Regions from separate parts of the Homo sapiens genome. Here region 1 is linked to region 2. Evidence: promoter capture Hi-C in 16 types of primary human blood cells and fetal thymus (Javierre and others, 2016). All regions are on one chromosome and are shown on one strand. Each heading gives the region's core, a stretch centred on a gene start or on the middle of the fragment in contact. The rest is flanking DNA. Distances are from core to core; before and after follow the strand shown. Region 1 holds the start of PWP1 (PWP1 homolog, endonuclein). Region 2 holds the start of FAM222A (family with sequence similarity 222 member A).

What was found. The method cuts DNA at HindIII sites, captures the fragments that hold promoters and counts their contacts. A CHiCAGO score of 5 or more calls a contact.
Region 1: a contact is called between the fragment with the promoter of PWP1 here and the fragment with the promoter of FAM222A in region 2, in 1 of 17 cell types (naive CD4 T cells). The highest score is 6.1, in naive CD4 T cells.

The regions. Positions count from the first base shown.
Region 1 is chr12:107,683,555-107,687,048 of GRCh38, reverse strand. It overlaps PWP1 (PWP1 homolog, endonuclein), which reads right to left and starts at 1,250. Exons shown (of 15, transcript NM_007062.3): 1 at 1,078-1,250. The coding sequence starts at 1,149. RefSeq lists enhancers at 912-961, 1,182-1,441. The HindIII fragment of the contact is 3,419 bases long and covers 1-1,594 here.
Region 2 is chr12:109,711,938-109,715,442 of GRCh38, reverse strand. It overlaps FAM222A (family with sequence similarity 222 member A), which reads right to left and starts at 1,618. Exons shown (of 3, transcript NM_032829.3): 1 at 546-1,618. RefSeq lists silencers at 1,478-1,527, 1,558-1,887 and an enhancer at 2,593-3,156. The HindIII fragment of the contact is 3,633 bases long and covers 1-2,521 here.

The DNA of each region.
Region 1 (3,494 bases), core at 1-2,500, 2.0 Mb after region 2:
ATACTATATGTGCACATGTCGACTCCATAAAGGCAGGGTCTTTTTCTATTTTTTTTTTTTTTTTTTTTTTTTTTTTTTTGAGACGGAGTCTCACTCTGTTGCCCGCCCAGGCTGGAGTGCAGCTGTGCGATCTCGGCTCACTGCAAGCTCCGCCTCCCGGGTTCACGCCATTCTCCTGCCTCAGCCTCCCGAGTAGCTGGGACTACAGGCATCCACCACCACACCCGGCTAATTTTTTGTATTTTTAGTAGAGACGGGGTTTCACCGTGTTAGCCAGGATGCTCTCGATCTCCTGACCTCGTGATCCGCCCGCCTTGGCCTCCCAAAGTGCTGGGATTACAGGCGTGAGCCACCGCGCCCGGCGGGACTTTTTCTATTTTGTTCATGCCTATCCCAGGACCCTGAACAATGCCTGGCCTACAGAAAGCACTTAGTATCCAATGAGGAAATTACTTAAGTAATCGTCACCTCTGCTACAGTCTCAGTCTCCAACTCTTGTAGGTTTTTCATGTGTTAGACATTTACCTCTCATCCTCCCTGCTACCATCAACATCTCACTTGGATTACTGCAAGAAATTCCCTATTCATCTCCCAGCCTCACGACATCTTAGCCTCCACACCAGTTTTTCTACACCACATTCATCCTCACTCCTTCAGACACGGAGCACAAGAGTGGAAAGTGGAGTTTTCATGCTCTCTTCCCAGTTATGCTTGAAAATGCACTTGGGTGCTAGTGAAGCTAGTGGTGTTGTCAAAAAGCCTTTTGGGGTATTACCCACCAAAAACAGCAGCCCACCCCTTTCCGGCCCGCTAAGTCCATGTGCGTGCGAATTTGGGAGTGGGGTTGGGCTTGAGGGTGGGAACAGTGAGAAGGCGCGGCCCTTGACTCTCCAGGCTCAGGCGAACCAGACCTTCTGAACTGCAGCTCTAGTCGCGACAATCCGGGCAAAGCCGCCCTCACCCCAGCCAGTCGCACCAGCCAACGCCCCGAGTTCCGGGTCCACGTTCCCCCAGCTGGGCGGACCCCCAGTGCCGTAAAGACGCTGCTCCCCTTGTCTCCCAGCGACCAGGCCTCACCTTGTCTGGTGTCTCTTTGGCCACGCCGCAGCGGACCCAGGCCACGCACGTCACCTGGCGGCTGCGGTTCATGGTCCTCAAGTCAAGGGCGTGTCACGCTAGAAACCAGGCTGCATAGGGAGGGACCACGACCGCACTGCTGCCACACGCTCAGGGATCTGCACAGGGCCGCTGCCAGGGCAGAGCGCATGCGCAGGCTCCTGTTTGGGCAGCGTCGGCGCTCATTTCAGACGTCATTCTGAGGCGCCGAATGAGAAATAGGAGGGGACAAAATGGAAGCGGAAGCAGCCGGGCGAGGAATCCACGTGGGCTGGTCTGGGCTGTGTGAAGTATAGAGAAAAGGCTTTTCAGGACTGCATGTGACGATGCCTGCGGGCTTTGTAAAGGCCAAGAAAATATTTGGGACTGTAGGGGTCAGTCAGAAGCAAAGTTTCACCAATCTTTATTTTGCTTGCAGTTCCGTAGACTTCAAGCTGACAAATGGCAGAGGTTTGTGGTTTGCGTTTTTTAAAAAGCTTTCTCCAAAATGAATTTGTCGTTTCACGGAGATCCCACCATTACATCTCATTACATCCCTAAATGTTACTTTCTCACCTTAAAACATTTAGCACCAAAAAAAAAAGTGAGAAAAAAACATTTAGCACCAATTATATACTAACTATGCAGTAGTGATTTAGTCTTGGCAAACACAAAGGGCTTACTTATGTTGAAGGCGCTGTTTTGAGTGCCGTATCACGTGATTACTTACCCCTTTGTGGGAGGTCTTATTTCCGTTTTACACCTGGGAAAACAGCGATCCTTCCAAAGGTCACACTGCTAGTAAGCGGTGCAGCTGGGATATGAACCCGGGCAGTGTGACTCCCTTGTATCTATGTCATGCTTCTCAGCTAAGATCAGTCATCTGTTAGAACTCGTGAGTGGCTGGACGTTTGTAGAATGGAAAATCTCAAACTAGCATCCCAGAAAAATCTGGGTTTTGATCTCTTGGCTGTGTGGCCCTGTCCTGGTCATTTACCCTCAATGCATCTACCTCTGAGAGAGGCAAGCAAAAGAAACAGGAAGGTGGCTGCTATGGGGAAACAGTGGCAAGGATAAACTGGCAGTACACATGGTCTTTCCCAGTGGCATTGTCAAACGGGGGGTGTCCACCTGTGGGCTCTATTCGGGGACCTTTTTGCAACACATTTATCTTTCTATACAGTATTTTACTTGGTTCTCACAACACTTTGTTTTAAAGATGAAGCTAGAGTCCCCAGTAGTCAAATACTTTCCTACTCAGATCACACACAGAGGAGCTGATACAACTATGAGTTCTGTCACCAACTCTACTCAGCCTAATGCGCTTGGCAATCTCCCTGCCTGAGGAGAGATCCTCCCAGAAGTAAATTGCTCATTGTTTGTGTAGGCAGATTATTTGTCCATTAAGACTTCTCCCCCTGCTCTGTTTCTGTAAGATGATTCTTCTGTGGTTTCTTTGCTTTTAACCCATTTTAGAAAGACCATATGGCAGATAATATTTTTCAAGGATGGCTGCAACAATAGAGTCCTTCACACATGTTTGTCTGCAACGTGATCTTGATATTCCTCCATCAAAGCACCCCCCCCCGCCCCCACCAACTTGAATCTGGGTAGTTGTAGGTCTGCTTTGGCCAATAAAGTATGACAGAAATGATGTTTCCAAGGTTAAGTCATAAATAGGATGCAGGTTTTGCTTCCCCACCACCACACCCACTTCTCCACTTCCACACCCCCCACCCACTCCCCCACTGCCCACCAGTAGAACACTAATGTTTGGAGCCCTGAGCCACCATATAAAGTTTGGCTACTGTGGTAGTCTGTTCTCACACTGCTAATAAAGACATACCCAAGACATGATAATTTATAAAGAAAAAGAGGTTTAATGGACTCACAGTTTCAGTTGGCTGGGGAAGCCTCACAATCACTGCAGAAGGCAAAAGAGAAGAAAGGCATGTCTTACATGGCAGCAGGCAAGAAGAGAGCATGTGCAGGGGAACTCCCCTTTATAAAACTATCAGATCTCAGCTGGGTGCAGTGGCTCATGCCTGTAATCCCAGCACTTTGGGAGGCCGAGGCAGTTGGATTACAAGGTCAGGAGTTCTAGACAAGCCTGGCCAACGTAGTGAAACCCCGTCTCTACTAAAAATATAAAACTTAGCCGGGCATGGTGGTGCATACCTGTAGTCTCAGCTACTTGGGAGGCTGAGGCAGGAGAATCACCTGAACCCAGGAGGCGGAGGTTGCAGTAAGCCGAAATCGCACTGCTGCACTCCAGCCCGGGCAACAGATCAAGACTCTGTCTCAAAAAATAAAAATAAATAAAAATAAATTAATTAATTAATAAAACCATCAGATCTCATGAGACTTATTATCATGAGAAAAGCACAGGAAAACGCCGC
Region 2 (3,505 bases), core at 369-2,868:
TCGTGCCCCCACTGGGGAACCTACCGTCCCTGCGAGTTATTTGTGGGAACGTGGTTTGAACGAGGGCTCTAAGGTCTAGCCCCATGGGGCACAATTCTCAAACGTGGCCACCTGCGTTTCTGGAACCCCAAATCCCCCTCTGAGGTGATTTCCCTTGAAGATCTCAGAGGCTGCTCGGGAGACCCTCAACGTTTTCCCATCCTGGGTGCCCCCCACCCCCCAGCCCTTCCAAGACACTGGAGTTCCCGGGGAATTTTCGGATGACACAGCCAATACCTTTGTTAGCTTTACGGGTGGGGTGACCTTTCCTCTCTGGCAACCAACCCGCCCAGGGTCCCGCGGAATCCGAATGGGCCCCCCAACCTCCACTCCCATCGGCTGGCCCATCTGAACAAGTTGTGTTTGGAGGGAGGAAAGGGGCGGACAAGGGTTATCTCTGCTTCAGGACCCCCAACAGCCTAGGACCCCTTCTGTCCAATCCTGGCTGCCCGGACGCCAGGGGGTGCCCCCAGCTCCAGCGCAGAACCCCGCCCCGCACAACTCACCGGATCAGCCAGGCCGTCGAAGGGCACCAGGTCTCAGCTACCACGACGCTCCGCTCGACGGGTCGCAGCCATGCAGGAGTGGCAGAGGCTGCCTGACGAAGCCCTCCTTGGGGGTCGATGCCTCTCTCCGGGTGGGAAGGGGCGCTGTCGGTGAGGGCTATCCTGGCGCCGGCCTGCGCCGTCCGAAGTCGGGGGGGAGGGGAGGTCTCCGTTCAGCAGGGGTCACGCCCGCCCCGGACGGGGGCCGCGCGGGCGCTCAGGCGACGCATCTTCGCCGGGGCCCGTGATCGCCACGTCCGGCGGGCGGCGCTGCGCCTCCCCTCGGGGCCCCGCTCAAGGCTGCAGCTCGGCCCGCGCCGCTCCCAGGGCGCCCTCTCCGCCCGCGCTGGGAGCCCGGCGGCCGCGGCCCCTTTCGCCAGCCCCAGCTGCAGCCTGTCTTTGTTGCTTCCTCTCGCTCGCCCGCCCGCCCGCGGCTTGCAGCCCCCGGGTTCGCCCCGAGGTGGAGGGATTGTCTCCTTCGGGGGTTGCACGCACCCGCAGCGGCCCCGGCTCCTCGCCGGACATACACCGGCCCCTGCAGGTTGCAAAGAACAGCGGCGAGAATGCACCGGCCCCTCCTCCTCCTGCTCTGAGCCCCGGGTGTGGGGGGAGGGGAAGCCGGCGAACAGCGGCGGCGGCAGCGGCGGCGGCGGCGGCAGCGGGCGACGCAAGCTCGGATGCAGCCTCGGGGGCCTCGGCGCTGAGAAACAGCCGATCCCAGTGGCGCAGGACGGACACGAGGACGGCCCGGGGGACTGTGCACCGGGTGTGCGAGCTCGCAAGCCGCAGCAGGGGCCGCGCGCGCTGGGCTCTCACGCGCCCATGGCCCCGGGCGGCGCGCGGGGGCTCCCGGGGCCGCAGCCTCGCGCCGTCTGGCGCGCGCCGGCGCCTCGCCTGGTCTCAGGCCCGGGTGCCGCGCGCCGCGCCCCACAGGCGCCGGGCCCGGCTGTCCGCCTCCCCCGGCCGGCGCGCGCAGCCTCTCCGCGGAGCAGCCGGCCAGGCAGTCCTGCCCGCTGCTCCGCTCTGGCCCGACTGACAGGCGCGAGCGCCGGCAGCAGCCCCCGCGTCTCGTCCCCCGCCCGCCCCCCGCGGCCCAGCCCAATCAGCGGCGGCTGAGAGGCGGTTACCAGGGTGACGCGGCACCGCGTCCTGCGAGGGGCGGAGCCGGGGGCCGCCACGCGCGCTTTTCGCGGCAAAATTCAAAGGCCGGCAGGGCGGCTCTCCAACCTCCTCCCCCAAGCAGGGACGAGGCGGAACTTGCCTCGCGAGGACTGCAACTCCCGGCATGCTGCGCGCCGGCGCCGGGTGGAGGGGCCCCGACTGGGGGCGCAGGGCGTGCTGGTTTTTGTAGTCCCACTAGGGGTGGCAAAACCAGTGTCATTTACTGATCACATATTTGGGACAAGGCACTGTATAAGTGCATTATCGGCATTATTTCATTTAATCTTGGCAAAAACCAACCTCATGAGGAATTTGTTAAAAATAACAACTATAGCTAACACTTATGTAGCAAAGTATTTTATCTAATCCTCACAACACCGTGTGAGTGGGTATTACTATCACCCCCATTTTACAGATGAGAAAACTGATACGGTAGGTACTATTATTATACTTCCAACTTACAGAGGAAACTGAGGTAAGGAGATGTGAAGTGACATGGTCCTGGATGTTTTTGTCCTAAGGCTTATTTTTGGCAGCGATGTGTTTTTGGCATCACAGTTGTGATCTGTGGAGCGCTAACTATATAACCCAGCACAGCGCTGAGCAATTTGCAAGCTACACCTTCTAGACGTACCCCACGCCCACAGGAGACAGGCACTAGCCTACTCCCCCACTTAATAGATAGGGAAACTGAGGCATAGTTTCACATCAACCTGGGGTTCAAATATGAATCTATCAAACTATACTGTGCTTTCCCTTTTACTTTTAAAGAAGCTTCCTGGGTTCTCACAGCCCATGGGCGGCCCGTCTAGCAGTCTCATTTACAGATGGGGAAATTGAGTCCTGGGTGGGGCAGTTCCCTCAGTTGCTGTGTGTCCATCACACAGCACTGTAGGAAGCCAGCTTTCCGGGATAATAACAAAGATCCCCACAGAAATGCAGAGCAGCAGTCAGACCCCCCACCCCTCAGGCTATGCCCGTGTGATACCTGGAGTCCCACCGAAACTGGGTGGGATTGCAGCCCTGCCCTTGCTGGTTGTTGGTCTTGGCCATTTACCTTCACGGGTCTGCGCCTCAGTTTCTTGTCTGTGAAATGGGGGGCATCATAATTCCTACCTTACAGCGTAGATTTGAGGGCAAAATGAATTCTTGCATGTAAAGGACTCAAAACACACATTAAGTGCTCAATAAATGCCCTCTGTACTCACCCGGGCTGGAGGGCTTTGGAGACCCTGGGGAGCGTATCCAGCGGACGGGCTGATTATAGACGGGCCCTAGCCTACTTCCAGGAGCCAACCCACCCCGCCGGGAGAGGCGCCCGCGGCGGACCTCCAGGGCCGGCCCAAGTGGGTCACCCGCCGCCTTATCTAGGACAGGAGCTGGCCCTGTTTCAGGCCTCTAAGCGGCTGCTCGGCGCGCTGTTCCCAGCAGCTCCGCTCTATTTCTCCGCGGCCGCCCCCATCTCCTCCCCTTCCCTCCCCAGGCTGAAGGTGGGGGTGGGGATTTACCTGGAAATGTGTTATGCCTCCAGCTGCTTCCCGCTCGGGCCAGCAGCCAGGGCTGCGGGGACGTCAGGGAGGGCGGCCGGGGCGACTGGATGGGTGGACCCAGCGTGTGGACAGGTGGGGAGACCAGACTTCAGCTGAGGACAGGGCGAGGGACAGTAACAAGCAAACCCTGGGAAATGAGAGAGATCGCGAAGAGGAGAAGAAGGCAGCAGTTCGCACCACAGCCTGTCAAAAGTTTGGGATTTTTTTCAT